Regions from separate parts of the Homo sapiens genome. Here region 1 is linked to region 2. Evidence: promoter capture Hi-C in human tissues and cell types (Jung and others, 2019). All regions are on one chromosome and are shown on one strand. The core of a region is centred on a gene start or on the middle of the fragment in contact, and the rest is flanking DNA. Distances in the headings are between cores, read along the strand shown. Region 1 has its middle 65 kb from the start of GRM5-AS1. Region 2 holds the start of RAB38 (RAB38, member RAS oncogene family).

Region 1 (3,726 bases), core at 102-2,601, 260 kb after region 2:
AATATTGTGGGACATACCTAAAATGAAAGACAGAAATAAAGCAAACAGAAACGAAAGAGGAACTTAGAAAAATTACGGACAACCCAATAAGTAGAAGAAAATATGAAAGAAATTATAATTAATAGCCACAGAGATAAGGGAAGATATTGTATTGGTGAGATGTAATCCAAGTGCTTTAAAAAACAATCAGAAAGCAAGAAAATTATCAGAAAATAAAATATGGTATTCAAAATTTTTAAAAATGTAAAATGTTTAGAATATAAAGTCAATGAAATCATCCACAAAGTACAGCAAAAAAGGCAGAGATAAAAATGGAAGAAATAGGCCAGGTGCGTTGGCTCACGCCTGTAATCCCAGCACTTTGGGAGGCCGAGGAGGGCAGATCATGAGGTGAGGAGATCAAGACCATCCTGGCTGACACGGTGAAACCTGGCCTCTACTAAAAAATACAAAAAATTAGCCAGGCATGGTGGCAGGTGCCTGTAGTCCCAGCTACTTGGGAGGCTGAGGCAGGAGAATGGCGTGAACCGGGGAGGCGGAGCTTGCATTGAGCTGAGATAGCACCCCTGCACTCCAGCTTGGGTGACAGAGCGAGACAATGTCTCAAAACAAACAAACAAATAAAATAAAATAAAATTTAGGGCATTACTTTAGAAGGTGTTGTTTAGCCAAAGGATTTTGGGAACAAAAGGAGCAGGAAATGGAAGGAAGGAAATTGTCAAAGAAATGATAAAAGAAAAATTCTTAGGAGTTTCCTGGTGGAAAAGGCCCACTGAGAATTCACCCAAAGAAATAATCATAAATTTACAATGATAAAGGTTCATTTTAAATTGATCTAGGTAGTAAAAAACAGTATATATAAAGATTAAGATGTATAAAATTTAAGATTCTTTATGTTAAGAATAAAAAATTGTAGATAAATGCATTAATTTTTTATTATGTACTAATCTAAATTTTGAGACGAAATTTTTTTTTCAGTGTAGAATCATAGCCCAGCTCACTAATCAATCAGGTATAAGGTAAATTTAAAATAGTTTCAGCCATATAAAATATTTGTCTGCATGTAGGTCTTCTCAGGAAGCTGCTAGATATGTGCACCACCAAAAAAAAAAAAAAAAAAAGGGAGTAAACCAAGACAGGACAACATCAAATTGAGGAAGCAGGGAACCAAACACAGGAACCAAGTGAGGAGAATTCCCAGAATGATGACAGAACTTCCAGGTCTTCCACCATGCAGCACAACTTATGTAGACCAGCATCCAGAGCAAAGTACAGGACAGGAAATCTCAGCAAAGTCTCTGAGGGGGAAATGGAATTGGCAGGTGTTCTGTGTATAAAATTGTGTATAGTTGTCAAAAAAGTAGGGCCAAGGCGTAGCTATATATTTACTCTAAACGAATGGGACAAAGAGGAGGTTTTAACACCAGTGTAAGTAGGAATTTATTCAAGAAAATAAATGTAGTGATAATAGGCTACCTGTTTCATCAGTGAATAATATTTATAATACCATAATTATACAAATACTAAACACAGATTTAACCAATACTTGTCATAATAACTATAATGGGGGAAGAGAGGGATGAAGGGAAAGGGAGAATAAAAAAAAGTTAAAATCCTCATTTTCTATAATAGGAAGTCAATTAAGAATGTTTAAATATGATCACACAGAAGATAACAGTAAATATGTATTTTAAATTTTTTTGCTTTGTAGTAATGTATAGGAGATTGAAAAAAAAAATGTCGAAGAAATCTCATGTACCTTTCACCTAGTTTTATAAGAAACTGCCTTATTCTTCCAGACTGGTCGTACCAGTTTATATTCCCACCAGCATTGTACGAATGATCCAGTTTTTCTGCATCATCAGGATTTCTTGTTATCACAAGTTTTCATTTTAGTCATTCTGATAGATGTCTGGTGGTTTCTCACTGCAGTTTTAATTTGTCTTCTTTTAATGGCTAAAGATACTGAACATCTTTTTATATGCTTATTACCATCTATTCATGTCTATTGCTCATTTTCTAGTTGAATTCTGTAATTTTTTACTGTTGTGTTTTGAGAGTTCTTTACGTATTCTAGATACTATTCCTTTGTTGGATATATGGTTTCTAAGTGTCTTCTCTCAGCCTGGATCTTACTGTCTTTTTATCTCCTTCACAGGGTCTTCTGCGGAGAAAAAGTTTTTACTTAAAAAAAAAAAGAGATCAGTTTTACATTTTATGGAGCATGGTTTTGTGTTAAGAATAGGAACTCTTTATATCGTTTTAGGTCCTGAAGATTTTTGCATATGTTTTCTTCTTTTCTTTCTTATTTAAATTGACGTGTATTTTTCCCCCCAATCTGTATGTCTAATTAATCTGGCACGATTATTTTGAAGACTATAATTGCTCCATCAAATTAGCTCTTGGACCTTTGTCAAAAATCAGTTGATGATATTTGTGTGGGGCTCTTTCTGAGCTCTTTGTTGTGTTCTATTGAATTACGTGCCTATCCCTCTGCCAAAACTACATTGTCTTCATGGCTGTAGTTGTGTAATAAGTTTTAACATTAGGTAGGGGGATTGCTATCACTTTATTCTTCTTTTTCAAAATTGTTTTAGCTATTCTAGGTCCTTTAACTTCTGTATATGTTTTATAATAATTTTGTCTATATTCACAAAAGTTCTTAGTGGGATTTTAATAGAAAGTTTGTTAAACCTATAGATCAATTTGGGGAGAATTCATATCTTTACTGTTTTCGGTCTTTCGATGCATAAATGTAGTATGTCTCTTCATTAGTTTAGGTCATCTTTTATTTATTTTATTAGTATTTTATAATTTTTATCATATAGATATTGTACAAGGTTTTTATATTTATACCCAAGTACTTTGTTTTCTTTGGAACATTTGTAAATGCCATTTTGTTTTTAATTTTGCTAGTATGTAGAAATGCAATTAACTTTTGTGTGTTGATTTTGTATCCTGCAACCTTGGTGAACTCGCTCATTATTTTTAATATTTTTTTGGTAGATTGCTTGGGATTTGCTATGTAGACAATCATGTCTTCTGTGAATAAGGATAGTACTACTTGTTCTTTTTCAATTTATATGCTATTTATTCATTTCTCTTAACATATTATGCTGGGTAGAATTTCTAATACTATTAATATGTTAAATAAGAGTGGTGAACACTTTTTTTTGGTTTTTGTTTCTTCCAGTTTTAAAATGTTTTTTTAATATCATTTCTTTGGTAATATTTCTATTTTTAATTGTTATAGGACTATTTGTAATGTTCTTATTTTTGTTATATGTGCTTTAATATCTGTGTTAAATAATTTCAACATCAGATTCATCTCTATGTCTTTTGATTGTCTTTTTGTGTTCAAGTTGAGATTTTCCTCAACTTAGCATAGGACCTTTTATCCCAGCAGAAACCTAATATACATTTGCAGAATTGAATTTACTTAAATTGAATTCTTTTTTTTACAGCAAAATGTTTTTCTCATCCCAGAAAGACAATAGAGCAATGAAAAACCTATCAACTTTAGGAATTTTGATATTCATGTCTTTCCAAATGCTTTCTCTCCCCAAATCCAGCTTTCTAGATATGCAGCTTCTCATCCAAAGGAAAGTGTTGGTGTGATGTAAGCAGTGCCAGATCCAACTCCAGCTCTCTTTACTGTTTATACCCCCCTACCCCACCAATGGAAAATTCACAGGAAGACAGACTAGGCAGCTTATGTCATCTTGC
Region 2 (3,935 bases), core at 1,284-3,783:
AGCATTAGAGCTCTGGGAAAAACAAGCTCCTCTACTGAGATGTTGAATGTAACACCACCGCAGTATCTGTAGAATGAACTTCCCAAGACTTCAGATTTCTTATTTATACAGACTTCTGTGACTACAGCCTCCACTGCAACTTCAGTCTACAAAACATGGCTAACGAAGTGCTTTCGAGCTTGGGAGTTAAATTGCTCCTGAGAGTATGTCAGGAGCAAAGCTGAAAATGGTGATAACTTGGGGACAAAATATATATGTAATATTGGGATCACAATTTATTAGGAATTAATAAGCACTTGTATATCATATCCTTCTTGCCTAGCATTTATATAGGCTTAAAAAAATGGTAGCTAGTGTGATAATAATCCTTGCAGATCTCCTAGAGAACAGGCATGATCACCTTCAGCTAGCACTGTTGGTTGCTCACCTGTCATCTATTGGGAGAAAGCATTCTCCCTGTTTACAAGTAAGGAAACCAAAACAAGGAGGTTAGAGAACTTACCTAAGATTGCCTACTACATGCAGAGTAAAGTAAGGATCCAGATGGAGGCAGTTCAACTCTGGAATTTGGGCTATTAATCACTGTACCCTTCCATCTCTTCTGTTTATGTGAGGAGACTGAAATCTACAGACATAGAACTTCTCTGCTGTCATGCTGTTACCTGGATTGTACACAGAAGTCCAAATTACAGCTACATCCCCGTTTAAACAGTAAGCCGTTTCTAAATCTGAATCCTGAGGACTTTCGAGCAGCCAGAAGGGTTTTCAGACATTATGACATGCAGCAAGAAAGTACACAGAGAGAATTTTTTTAGATGAAAAGCCCCATCCAACAGTGGCTGATAACATTTTCTGTTCTCTGATAACCCCCTTGCTACTAGAGCAGCTGAAGATGACTCCAAATGCATGAATCTGTTCATCTGTTCACATGCTAAAAGAAAAAGGCCTGGCAGTTCATGATTAAAGAGGCACGAAAGTCCCCAGATCACAAATGCCCTTTCAAAAATTTTCCACATTTGTTCTAGTTTCAAGCCATGATAAAGAGTTTCCAATCAAATGCATCAGCTAAAATGAATCCATTTTCTGAAACAGAAGTGGCTAGTTTGGGTCCAGCACTTATAACGAAAGGTTCCTGGTGTCACAGACCATGAAATAAGACTGTTTGAAGTTGTTCCCATGGAGAATCCCAGAGGACTTTAAAACTTCTGAGCAGGAAGATCCTTGACCCTTGCCCAACTCCTTTCCACTTAACAGCGATGCAACTGAGCTGAAGAGACTTGTCCAAAGCCACTGAGCAGGTTAGTTAGTGGCAGGGCTAAAATCTGTAATGAGGGGTTGGTCATGCGCAGGTTGCAAACAGCCTTGTCCAAGGATTCACACTTGGAGTAGATACATTGCACCCTCACTTTTGACTAGGCCTAACTTCTGGTACAAACCTGTGGAGTCAAAATCTGATTTTAAATATTGTAAAAAACAAAAACAAACAACCTCTCATTTTTCAGATCTCTCAATGAAAACTTTAGGGCCAAATCAAGAAATCATAAGGCTATCATAGGCCCTTACATAAAAATGGCCTTAAAATATACACACAACCTCCTTTTCATAGAAGACAGAGAGCCAGAGAGATAGAAATACAGAAAGAGAGGGAGAAAGAATACTTTGCCCCTGACATATACACACAAAAGTACTTGGCTTACTGTAAGCAAAAAGCAAAAAAAAAAAAAAAAAAAAACAAAACAAAAACCCTCAAACTCCTTTGTCTTAAGGGCAGAGAGAAAGGTGACAAAATTTGAAATAAAGTGAGCCACTGAAGACAGGAATGGGCAAACTCCAGCTAGCCTGGAACTATCCCGGTTTCCTCTGTGAACCAGCCTAGGGGCTTCCCCTCGGTCCGCCCCTGCACGGAAGGACGTGCGTGACACTGGGCTGCGTCATTGGCAGAACTGCCCGCGCCCAGAAAACGAGCTGGAGTGGAGAACAGAATGCAATTGCAGACAATCTTCCTCTGGTTCCCTGGGGAGGCCTGCTCTGGGCAGAGAGATCCCAGGGGACTGTGCGGGAAGGAGCTAAAGCAATAGCCCAAAAGCGCCAGGGAATGCACTTGAAGTTTCAGACGTTTTTCTTTTCTTTGAAACTAAGTTTCCAGCCCACCAGGAAAAACTGCCTCGCGACCTAGTGATTTTAATCTCACGCTTGGCCGCAAGCCGCTGCCTCGAGACTGGAAACCGGCCGCGAGGCGCTCTATCCCCCTGACCCCCTCCCCCCGCGCTCACCTGCGATATCCCAGAGCTGCAGGCGCACCACAGTCTCCGGGTCCCAGTGGAGCACCTTGAGCGCGAAGTCCACGCCGATTGTGGCCCGGTAGTGCGAAGAGAAGTTCTGGTGCACGTAGCGCTTGATGATACTGGTCTTCCCCACGCCCAGGTCGCCAATCACCAGCAACTTGTACAGGTGCTCCTTGTGCGGGGCCTGCATCCTGGCGGCCGGCCAGACGTGCCGTGCCTGACCAGGGAAGCGCAGCCTGGGCTCTGCGCACGAGAGAGACTTGGGGAGCGCAAGTGTAGGTGCAGAGAGAGGCGTGGGCGGCGGGGCGGGGGCTGGGGGGCGGAACTCCTCCCCTAGGGGTTAATCCTCCTTCCTACTCCGCGGTCTTGGAGAGGGGAGGAGACAGGAGCGAGTCCCGGGACTGGCAGCTGAAAGGGGTTCGCGTGTGGTTGCCTGTTGCAGCGCTTATTTATCCGGCGCTTTAGAGTTTCCGAAGAGCTGTTTTCACCTGTGACCCTGGCCACAAACTTGTGAGGTGTGGATCTTATTTTCCACGTTTTGCTTGCGAGAAAACTGATTGTGAAAAAGTACTCTGCGGGAGATGGCCGGTGAAAGGCCCCGTTGACCACAGGTCTGAAGTCACAGGCTCTTAACTACCCCACACTGTAGAGAGAAATTACAGTATTAGGAAGCCCAAGACTGGCTGGGCTTGGTTCCTGCGTGCCCTGGTTTTTAAGTTGAGGGACCATAAGTAAGTCATTTGAGCTCTCACAGCCTGTTATTTCTCAATGAATGGCAATGCTGACCTCTGAGCAGCTTGGAGGTGGGAACACTGAGCACTTTCACACCCATTCAACTGGTAATCAGTTAACAAGGAGGACAACTGGGCCGAAAATGCCAAGGGCACTGGTGACTTTTAGCCTCTTCCCATATCCTAAAAACTCAGAGCTGCACAGAAAGACAGTTTTAACAATCGGTCAGATTATTACAAATAATAATAATGGCAAACATTTATTGAGCACTCGCTATATGCCAGAGGGTTTATAAATTATGTCATTTAGTCATCCCAGCTGTCTTAATAATAGATACCATTTTTCTTCCTATTTTACAAATGAGGAAGCTAAGGACCAGACATTTTAAGTAATGGACCCAGAGTCAAATAGTAAGGAAAAAAACCAAATTCAAACATAGGTCTTTAGGTTCCCAACTTCTTTTTGTTGTTTTTGTTGTTTGTTTTCATTCATTTGACCAATATACATTTTATTACCAATTAATATATGACAAATTGTACTTATTTTGTCTTGTCTGTCTCCACCTACAAGAAGGTAAATTTTTTTGAGGCCAGTAGGCATTGTCTGCGTTAGGATTTCTGTATCATCCTCCTAACGCAGACAATGCCTACTGGCCTAAGAAAAATTTACCTTCTTGTGGGTGGAGACAGGACAAGACAAAATAAATACAATTTGTCATATATTAATTGGTAATAAAATAAGGCAGAAAGGGGATGTGAAGAGATTATATGGGGTTTGCCTTTTAGATAGGGTGGCCAGGGAAGGTTTCAGTAAGATGGAGACAATTTAGTAAAGACATAAAGAAAATGAGAAATTGGGCATTCAGGGCTAGGGGGTGAGCAGTTTATACCAAAATGAGCTATTTTGTACCTGAATGTG

The links. The method cuts DNA at HindIII sites, captures the fragments that hold promoters and counts their contacts. A contact is called where the count stands out against the background at its distance.
Region 1: a fragment that was not itself captured here is called in contact with the fragment with the promoter of RAB38 in region 2 in 2 of the 25 tissues and cell types used here (lymphoblastoid cells and mesenchymal stem cells).

What each region holds. Positions count from the first base shown.
Region 1 is chr11:88,437,724-88,441,449 of GRCh38, forward strand. No RefSeq gene overlaps it. Among named protein-coding and RNA genes, the nearest start is that of GRM5-AS1, 65 kb to the right of the region's middle. The HindIII fragment of the contact is 9,638 bases long and covers 1-3,726 here.
Region 2 is chr11:88,172,910-88,176,844 of GRCh38, forward strand. RAB38 (RAB38, member RAS oncogene family) reads right to left here and starts at 2,534. Exons shown (of 3, transcript NM_022337.3): 1 at 2,274-2,534. The coding sequence starts at 2,475. It overlaps MIR3166 (microRNA 3166), which reads left to right and starts at 3,593; the gene lies at 3,593-3,684. The HindIII fragment of the contact is 10,731 bases long and covers 1-3,935 here.